2 separate regions of the Homo sapiens genome follow, and region 2 is linked to region 1. The links are contacts of gene promoters, found by promoter capture Hi-C in human tissues and cell types (Jung and others, 2019). All regions are on one chromosome and are shown on one strand. The core of a region is centred on a gene start or on the middle of the fragment in contact, and the rest is flanking DNA. Distances in the headings are between cores, read along the strand shown.

Region 1 (3,668 bases), core at 59-2,558:
CTGAGGGGGGAAAATTACCTCAGCCCGGGAAGTGGAGGCTGCAGTGAGCTGAGATGGCGCCACTGCACTCCACCTGGGTAACGGGAGTTAAGACCCTGTCTCCAAAAAAAAAAGGCAATGTCATTATTCAACATAAGCCTGAGTAGGCCATTCCCATGCCCATTCCTTAGATGACATATCTACTGTATATTTGCAAAAGATCAACATAGTTTCTAGGGTTAGCTAGAATTAATCCAAGATTGCGCCGGTTGCGGTGGCTCATGCCTGTAATCCCAGCACTTTGGGAGGCCGAGGTGGGCGGATCACGAGGTCAGGAAATTGAGACCGTCCTGGCTAACACGGTGAAACCCCGTCTATACTTAAAAAATTCAAAAAATTAGCTGGGCGTGGTGGCGGGCGCCTGTAGTCCCAGCTACTCGGGAGGCTGAGGCAGGAGAATGGCGTGAACCCGGGAGGCGGAGCTTACAGTGAGCCGAGTTCGCGCCACTGCACTCCAGCCTGGGCGACAGAGCGAGACTCCATCTCAAAAAAAAAAAAATCCAAGATTGCTTGTTAGAAATTAACATTGCTTTTTGAAAAATTGCCTAATAAAACAATTCTTTAGCAGTGATTCCCATCTTCCATATGCTTAAGAAATATTCCATAACCATCTAGCCAAGAAAATTCCTAGTGAATTCGTATTAATCTAGGGCAGATATTACAAATATTTTTAAAAGACTATTTTAAAATCAAAGGGTGGTACTGTGGTGTTGGAAATGGAAAGCCTAAATAACAGTCTAATCACTCTGGAGCTGTGTGACCTTGGGCAAGTTACCTAACTTCTGTTTCCTTATTAATCCCGGGTCTTAAAACACTTCAGAGATAATTGTGGGAATGAAATACACACTGCAGTCCCTACCAGCACTAGGTACCCAATAAAAGAGAGTTTCATTTTAATATCAAACAGAAAACCCGCACTGCAAAACTGAAACCCTTGCGTCCTACCAATGCACACCAAGTTTTTGGGCCTTTCCTCTTAACCTCAAAGTGCTCTTTTCTTGAACCTAAACGAGAATGAATGAATCAAAAGGAAAATGACAAGGAAGCTGCGGGGCGTGCATTTATTTCCAGCTCTGCTGCCCGTAGAGTCCCCCGGCCCACTGCCTGAGAACTGGAAAAGCCGTCTCTGCTCAGCCGAGGGGTTCTGCCATCTCCGGGGCGGGGACCTCACCTTGGAAAGACCCCTCCCACTCCGCCCCTCTTGGAATGCGGCTGAGCGGTGGATGTCCCTTTTCGGGCGCCGTAGGCGCGTTCCTATTGGCTAGCTTTGTTCGGCGCCAAAGCGCGGAGCGGAGGCCGAGGCGAGAGCCTGGCGCTGTAGGACTAGAACGAAAGGAGTGAGGCGCCGAGAGCCCAGATACCATTTTGGCGTGAGAGCTGGTGGTTGGCAAGGCCGCGGGAGTGGGAAGCGTCCGCCATGTTCTGCGAAAAAGCCATGGAACTGATCCGCGAGCTGCATCGCGCGCCCGAAGGGCAACTGCCTGCCTTCAACGTGAGGGGCGGGTAGACTTGGACGGGGCATGCCGGCGTTGGGCCCTGGGCTCTGGGGCGGGGCGGCTCCCCGTCAGGGTTCACTTTCGCACCTTGTTCCCTCCGAGCTCCGGAAAACTTGGGAAGCAGCAAAACAAAATTCAGGAGGAAAGAGAAAGCATTCATGCTTACGCTACCCAGCGATTTGGTGAATTTCCTCATCTGAGCAAATTTTGCATTTTAGCAGTTTTCCTTGGACAGATTTGTTCCGGTCCCTTAAAATATTTACAGGTTGCCTGATAATTTAGCATTTCTTGCTCACTCAGGCATCTAATCGTGGTCAGTAAAAGCTAGGCCTCTGGAACCTGGCTGAGATTCTGGTTCTGTAGTGTGACTTTGGGGCAGTTACTCAAGCTTTCTGTGCTCTCAGTTTTCTCATACGCAAAAATGGGGATGGTGACAATAATAGTACCCAACGCATGATGTAGTGGACGCAAAATGAGTGGCATGTGTAAGGGTCTCTGCATATGCCTCACATACAGTAAGGGCTGAGTCAGTGTTAGCTATTAATATTACTTTTCTCCTGCTGCTGCTGTTACTATTAATATTATGATTATTTGTATTTTTCTATCACTGCTACCCCAGGGAGAGTGCTAAGCACTTCATGTACATTATCTTTTGTCTTTCTAATAACCCTTTGAGGGCCCGGTACCATGGCTCCTGCCTGTAATCCCAGCACTTTGGGAGGCTGAGGCGGGAGGATCGCTTGATCCTGCCACTGCATTCCAGCCTGAGTGACAGGGAGACCCTGTCCCAAACAAAACAAAAATAACTTTTTGATGTTTAAACTATTGTTTTCTACTTTTTTCAGCTATATATGCATAGGATTGGGGAGATTTAAGTATATTGCCTAAGGTGACACAGCAAGAAAGCTAGGATTTGAACCCTGGCACTCTGGCTCCAGAGCCTGCACTCTAAATTGTATATTTCACTTACGTCATAGAGCAGGCATTATGTGGATGTCAGGACACATTCTGCTGGAAGATGGGCACAAAAACAGATAATAGAATTCACCACGCTAAGTGATACTAAGGAGGTATAGCAAGGAGCACGAAGGAGAAACACCAGTATGAGCTGGGGTAGAAGAGGTGATATATGAGCCTTTCCATCCTCAAGGATGAGGTTACTGATCTGAGAAGGAAGCGAGGCATCCCAGCCAAAGGATGCTGCAGCACAAAGTCACGTGGTCACACTGGAGAGGGTGACCAATAGGGCCTGTGGGGAGTCTAGGAAGGTGGCTCACAGCCTACATGAATTTGTTGTTCACTTATAAGGCATGCTGGGAGCTGGTAGAGGATTTTAGACAAGGAAGTGATAGGGTAATTTTTGTGTTTTGAAGGTAACTGCGGCAGCAATATGGGGAATGGATTGAAGAGAGGAAAGAATGGGACAGGGAGATGGCTACTGGGTGGCTGATAGAGCAGGTGAGAGGTGTGTGGTCTGAACTGTGTCAGGTCAGTGGCACTGAGATCAGTGTTTGGGTTTTAGAGACATGAAGCAAACATGACTTGTAGCTATTAGAGCAGGGGCAGAGATGGGGTCCATAATGAATAAGAGGGAGGAATTGGGATCTTGGAGGATCCTTAGGAAACTGGGTAAACAACATCAGAGTTCAGGAGATAGAGTGTGTTGGGAAAGGTAATGAGTTTTGTTTTGAACACTAAAGAGCACCTAGCCAGACAATTAGATTGTCTTACAAATGAAGAAACTGAGCTGACACAAATTATGGGTCAAGTTAAGGAACTCGTCTGAATTTACAGCATATTGGAGGTAGAGCTTCAACTTGAACACAGGTTTTCCAGTTTCTAGTCAATTGTTTTTTCAACTTCAGAGCAGTTACCTCATTTAAAAAGTTAGGCAGCAGTCTGCAGCTCAGTAGAGATGCTTGAATGCAGAAGTGTGTAAATGCTAAAATGTGGCCTGAGAACTAGGAACTTTAGAGGTCATTGTACATATCAGGACACAGGCCTAGAGAACAGAGAGACTGTGCAAACAGGTGCGGCCAAGCTGGATTTTGGACCTGACTCTGACACTTAGTTTAGCTCTCTGTTTTACTCAAATTTTAAGTTAAGTGTTGGGTTATCACTTTGTGGGGCTAG
Region 2 (3,646 bases), core at 564-3,063, 53 kb before region 1:
AATTAAAATGAATTCTAATTAAAATACATACAGGCCAGGCATGGTAGCTGATGCCTATAATTCCAGCACTTTGGGAGGCCAAAGCAAGAGAATAGCTTGAGGACAGGAGTTCAGGACCAGCCTGGGCAACACAGTGAGACCAGGTGTCTTAATTTAAAAAAAAAATTAACGAGATGTGGTGGTGTGTACCCATAGTCCCAGCTACTCTGAAGGCTGAGTCTGTAGTGAGCTATGATCACGTCACTGCACTCAAGCCTGGGCAAGAGTGAGACTCTGTCTCTATTTTTATAAATAAACAAACAGAGCCTCCAAAATTGGTGATTTTAAATTAGCAGCTCTATCGCCACCACAGTTCTGTCATCTAATTATGAAGGACACATACAAATAATCTGTAAATGAAAATTAGCTAGTTTAAAAATTGAATCTCTAAGTAATACCAAAATAACAGACAAAATAAATCAGAAATCTCATATAATGCTTTTTCCAAATTCTAGAGCTGAGGGCAAGCCATAGGTGTTTTTTTTGTTTGTTTCTGTTTTTTTTTTTCCTGGCAAACATGCCATGTTTAATATACCTTTAAAGTTAATTCCCAAAGTGTGAACAAGTATCTGTAAATGAAAGTAAATAACTCAAACAAAAAATTTAAAGAATAAGCAAATTTATAAGCAGAATATGTAAATATTTAAGCAGAATATGCAGCATTACCTTCTAACTCTTCCAAAAGACAATGCTCTCAAAACATGTGTTTGGGAATATGGTTATTTATGCAGCACTCAGGAGGGCACACAGATAAAGGCCCCAAAGGGAAAAACACAGCTGAACCTAAGCCTGACCCAGCTGTATTCTGTACAGGCTGGGCTGCTGCTGGGTTCACTTTAGAGCAGGACTGAGAATGTTAGCTTCTACCCCCGGCAGGCAGACCCTTGGCTCTTACGGGAGAGTTGCTGTGATCCTTCCAAGGTCCAGGAAATAAGCAAGCACCCGAGGCATAGAGAAATTAAAATTTGTCTTGGGCCTAGAGACCATAGCCTGCCTGGGCCAACGGCTGTCTGCACACCTTGGGACACACTGCTCACTTCGCCTTCCTGGCCTTTCCTTCTGTCCTCTGCAGAACCAAACTCAACGTCAGGCCGTGGTTTCTGCTCATCAAAGAATGACTGCTGCGTGATCACTAACGTGCCACCACCTGCACTTCAGTGTCTCAAGGTCTCCCCTGCCGCTGACATTTGGAACAGGCTGGTCAGGATACTGAGGATGCTGGACTCTCCTTCGCAGTGGTCTTTGTATAAACCCAAGGGGAATGGGAATTTGGAGACAAAGGAAGCCATCCTGGAGCGGCCAAATAAAGCCTTTAATCTTTAAGGACGGGGAGGTTCTTATTTCAAGACCTAAAGCAAATTCCTAAGTGAATAAACAAATGGGTAGGAATTTATAGCCTCAATAAATCAACTAAGTTGAATGTAGCACTAGATCATATTTGGCAGTAAAGCAAAAACCAAAAACCAGAATCTGGCCTGAAGGGCTGTTCCCACCTGTGGTGCCAGTTCACAGGTGTAGCGGCAGAAGACGGACACAGGGTGCACACTGTCCTGGAGGCAGGAAACAGGCAGGCAGGAAGGTCTGGGGAGAACTGGGGGGCAGGGAGGCAGGGAGGGGGTCACCCCACTGACCCCAGCTCTGGTGACAGAATACGTTCTACATTTTTATGGCCCAGTTTTTAAACATTCTGGTTTTTCAGCATCGATTGCCACTGTTTGCTATTCATGCCTCATAGTCTAAAAGGCTGTACATAAGCCACGTGTTACAGATGAAAAGCTGAGGCTTGTGTACAAGATGCACTGTCCATTGGAACTGGACACAGCCCATCTTTCCTGATGGCCATGATGAGGACCCTTTTGGTTCCCCATTTACACAACCACAGGATCCCAAATGGATGGTGAAAGACAGTGACACCAAAAGAAATCTGACAAGCCAAACTATTAAGTGCAATAAAATCCTAAGATAGAATTGTTATAATTAGAAAAAAAAATTACTATTTTAGAAAAAAAAAATTAACTTGTCTGGTTTCCTCAGCTTTTGACTGTCGTATTTTCTTAGAATGACAGTGTTTGGCCTCCCTCCAGCAGTTCAGAATTAGAAACCTACCCCAATCACATCTATCCCTTCTTTTACCTGACTTTGCTTTCTCTTTCCTATCTCTTTCTTCTCTTTCTGTACTTTCTGAACAGATACTCAAGCATAATTAGACTACTTTGAAGAACAAAGACATTATTTCCTAAGAGGTCTGAGCTGTCAATGATTTTGTATTTGGATCAGGAAACAGGAAAAGTAAAGGTACAATCACTCCAGAGGGCCCCCACTCTCAAATAATGCAGCACATTCCTGCTAAGCTACAGTGGGGTGTTCTGGGCACCACTGGATTCACTGGTGCCACATCATGCATGTACACAACTGATGTTTTCCATCCTGACGACCTGCAGGCTGGACGACACTTAATGCAGCCCCTCCAGACTACAAGAAGAGCACTTCCATTCCCTGCTGCTGCCTATCAAAGAGAAATATGCAGAAAACAAAGATTTTAAAAAACAGACCCTGTCCCCAGTTTTAAGGGCAATATAGAAAAAAAAAGCTGAGCTCATCATGCTTAAGAAGAAATGCTGTGTCCCTGAACTCAATCTAGAAAGCTTTCTGTTGCCACTTCCCCCTTTTTGTTTTTACCATTTCCTGCTAAAAGAGTAAAACATTTTCTTTGGGAAATTTAAAGGGTTTTTTTGTTGTTTTGTACTTTGATTTCCCATACTGCATTTGACAAAGTATAAACGGTTTTTTTTTTGTTGTTTGTTTGTTTTTGAGACAGTCTTGCTCTGTCACCAGGCTGGAGTGCAGTGGCACGATCCCAGCTCACTGCAACCTCCGCCTCCCGGGTTCAAGCCATTCTCCTACCTCAGCCTCCCGAGTAGCTGGGATTACAGGCACCCACCACCATGCCCAGGTAATTTTTGTATTTTTAGTAGAGACGGGGTTTCACCATGTTGGCCAGGATGGTCTCAATCTCCTGATCTCGTGATCCACCGGCCTCAGCCTCCCAAAGTGCTGGGATTACAGGCGTGAGCCACTGCGCCCAGCCCATAAAGGGTATTTTTAAGAAAAAAAAGTTTCACTGCATGCCACCAAATAAAAGTTGTCATTTATATTTCAGGAGGCTGACTTCCTTTTGCATGCTTTGAGCTGTGAAACTGGGCCAATAATAGGAGGTACTGATGGACAGACACAGAGTCCTTTCCTGAGAGAACAAAAGCCATTCTAACAACCAGGGGAGCCCACAAGATCATCTGTGTTGATGAAGCCTGTTTCTATTGATGCAGTTTCTGCGCTTGGTGGTGATGAAGAAGGGCATACCCTGAGTGTACTATGTAAAGCCTTCCCATCAAACAGCATCTGTAAAACTGCAAGGGAAAAAACACATCCAGGGTCAGACATTTATGGTAGCTCCTCTAGGTCTCCACTCTTGCACCTGAGACTGCGGAGGTTTTGCTTCCCACGGGGGCACAGGGCTCCTTAGGTTGCCACATATCAATAAACACTCAGTGCCTGCAAGAGGCTTTTCTATCAGCTCAGCCAGGCAGATGGCCACCTGTCTGCTTTC

What was found. Contacts are between HindIII fragments. The study calls those that stand out against the background at their distance.
Region 2: a contact is called between a fragment that was not itself captured here and the fragment with the promoter of GINS1 in region 1, in 2 of the 25 tissues and cell types used here (IMR-90 fibroblasts and hippocampus).

What each region holds. Positions count from the first base shown.
Region 1 is chr20:25,406,365-25,410,032 of GRCh38, forward strand. It overlaps GINS1 (GINS complex subunit 1), which reads left to right and starts at 1,309. Exons shown (of 7, transcript NM_021067.5): 1 at 1,309-1,531. The coding sequence starts at 1,457. It overlaps LOC105372581 (a long non-coding RNA gene), which reads right to left and starts at 1,931. Exons shown (of 3, transcript XR_937403.3): 1 at 1,707-1,931. RefSeq lists enhancers at 1,351-1,600, 1,698-2,455. The HindIII fragment of the contact is 13,310 bases long and covers 1-3,668 here.
Region 2 is chr20:25,352,730-25,356,375 of GRCh38, forward strand. The region is part of intron 1 of ABHD12 (abhydrolase domain containing 12, lysophospholipase); the gene reads right to left. Among named protein-coding and RNA genes, the nearest start is that of ABHD12, 36 kb to the right of the region's middle. The HindIII fragment of the contact is 7,479 bases long and covers 1-3,646 here.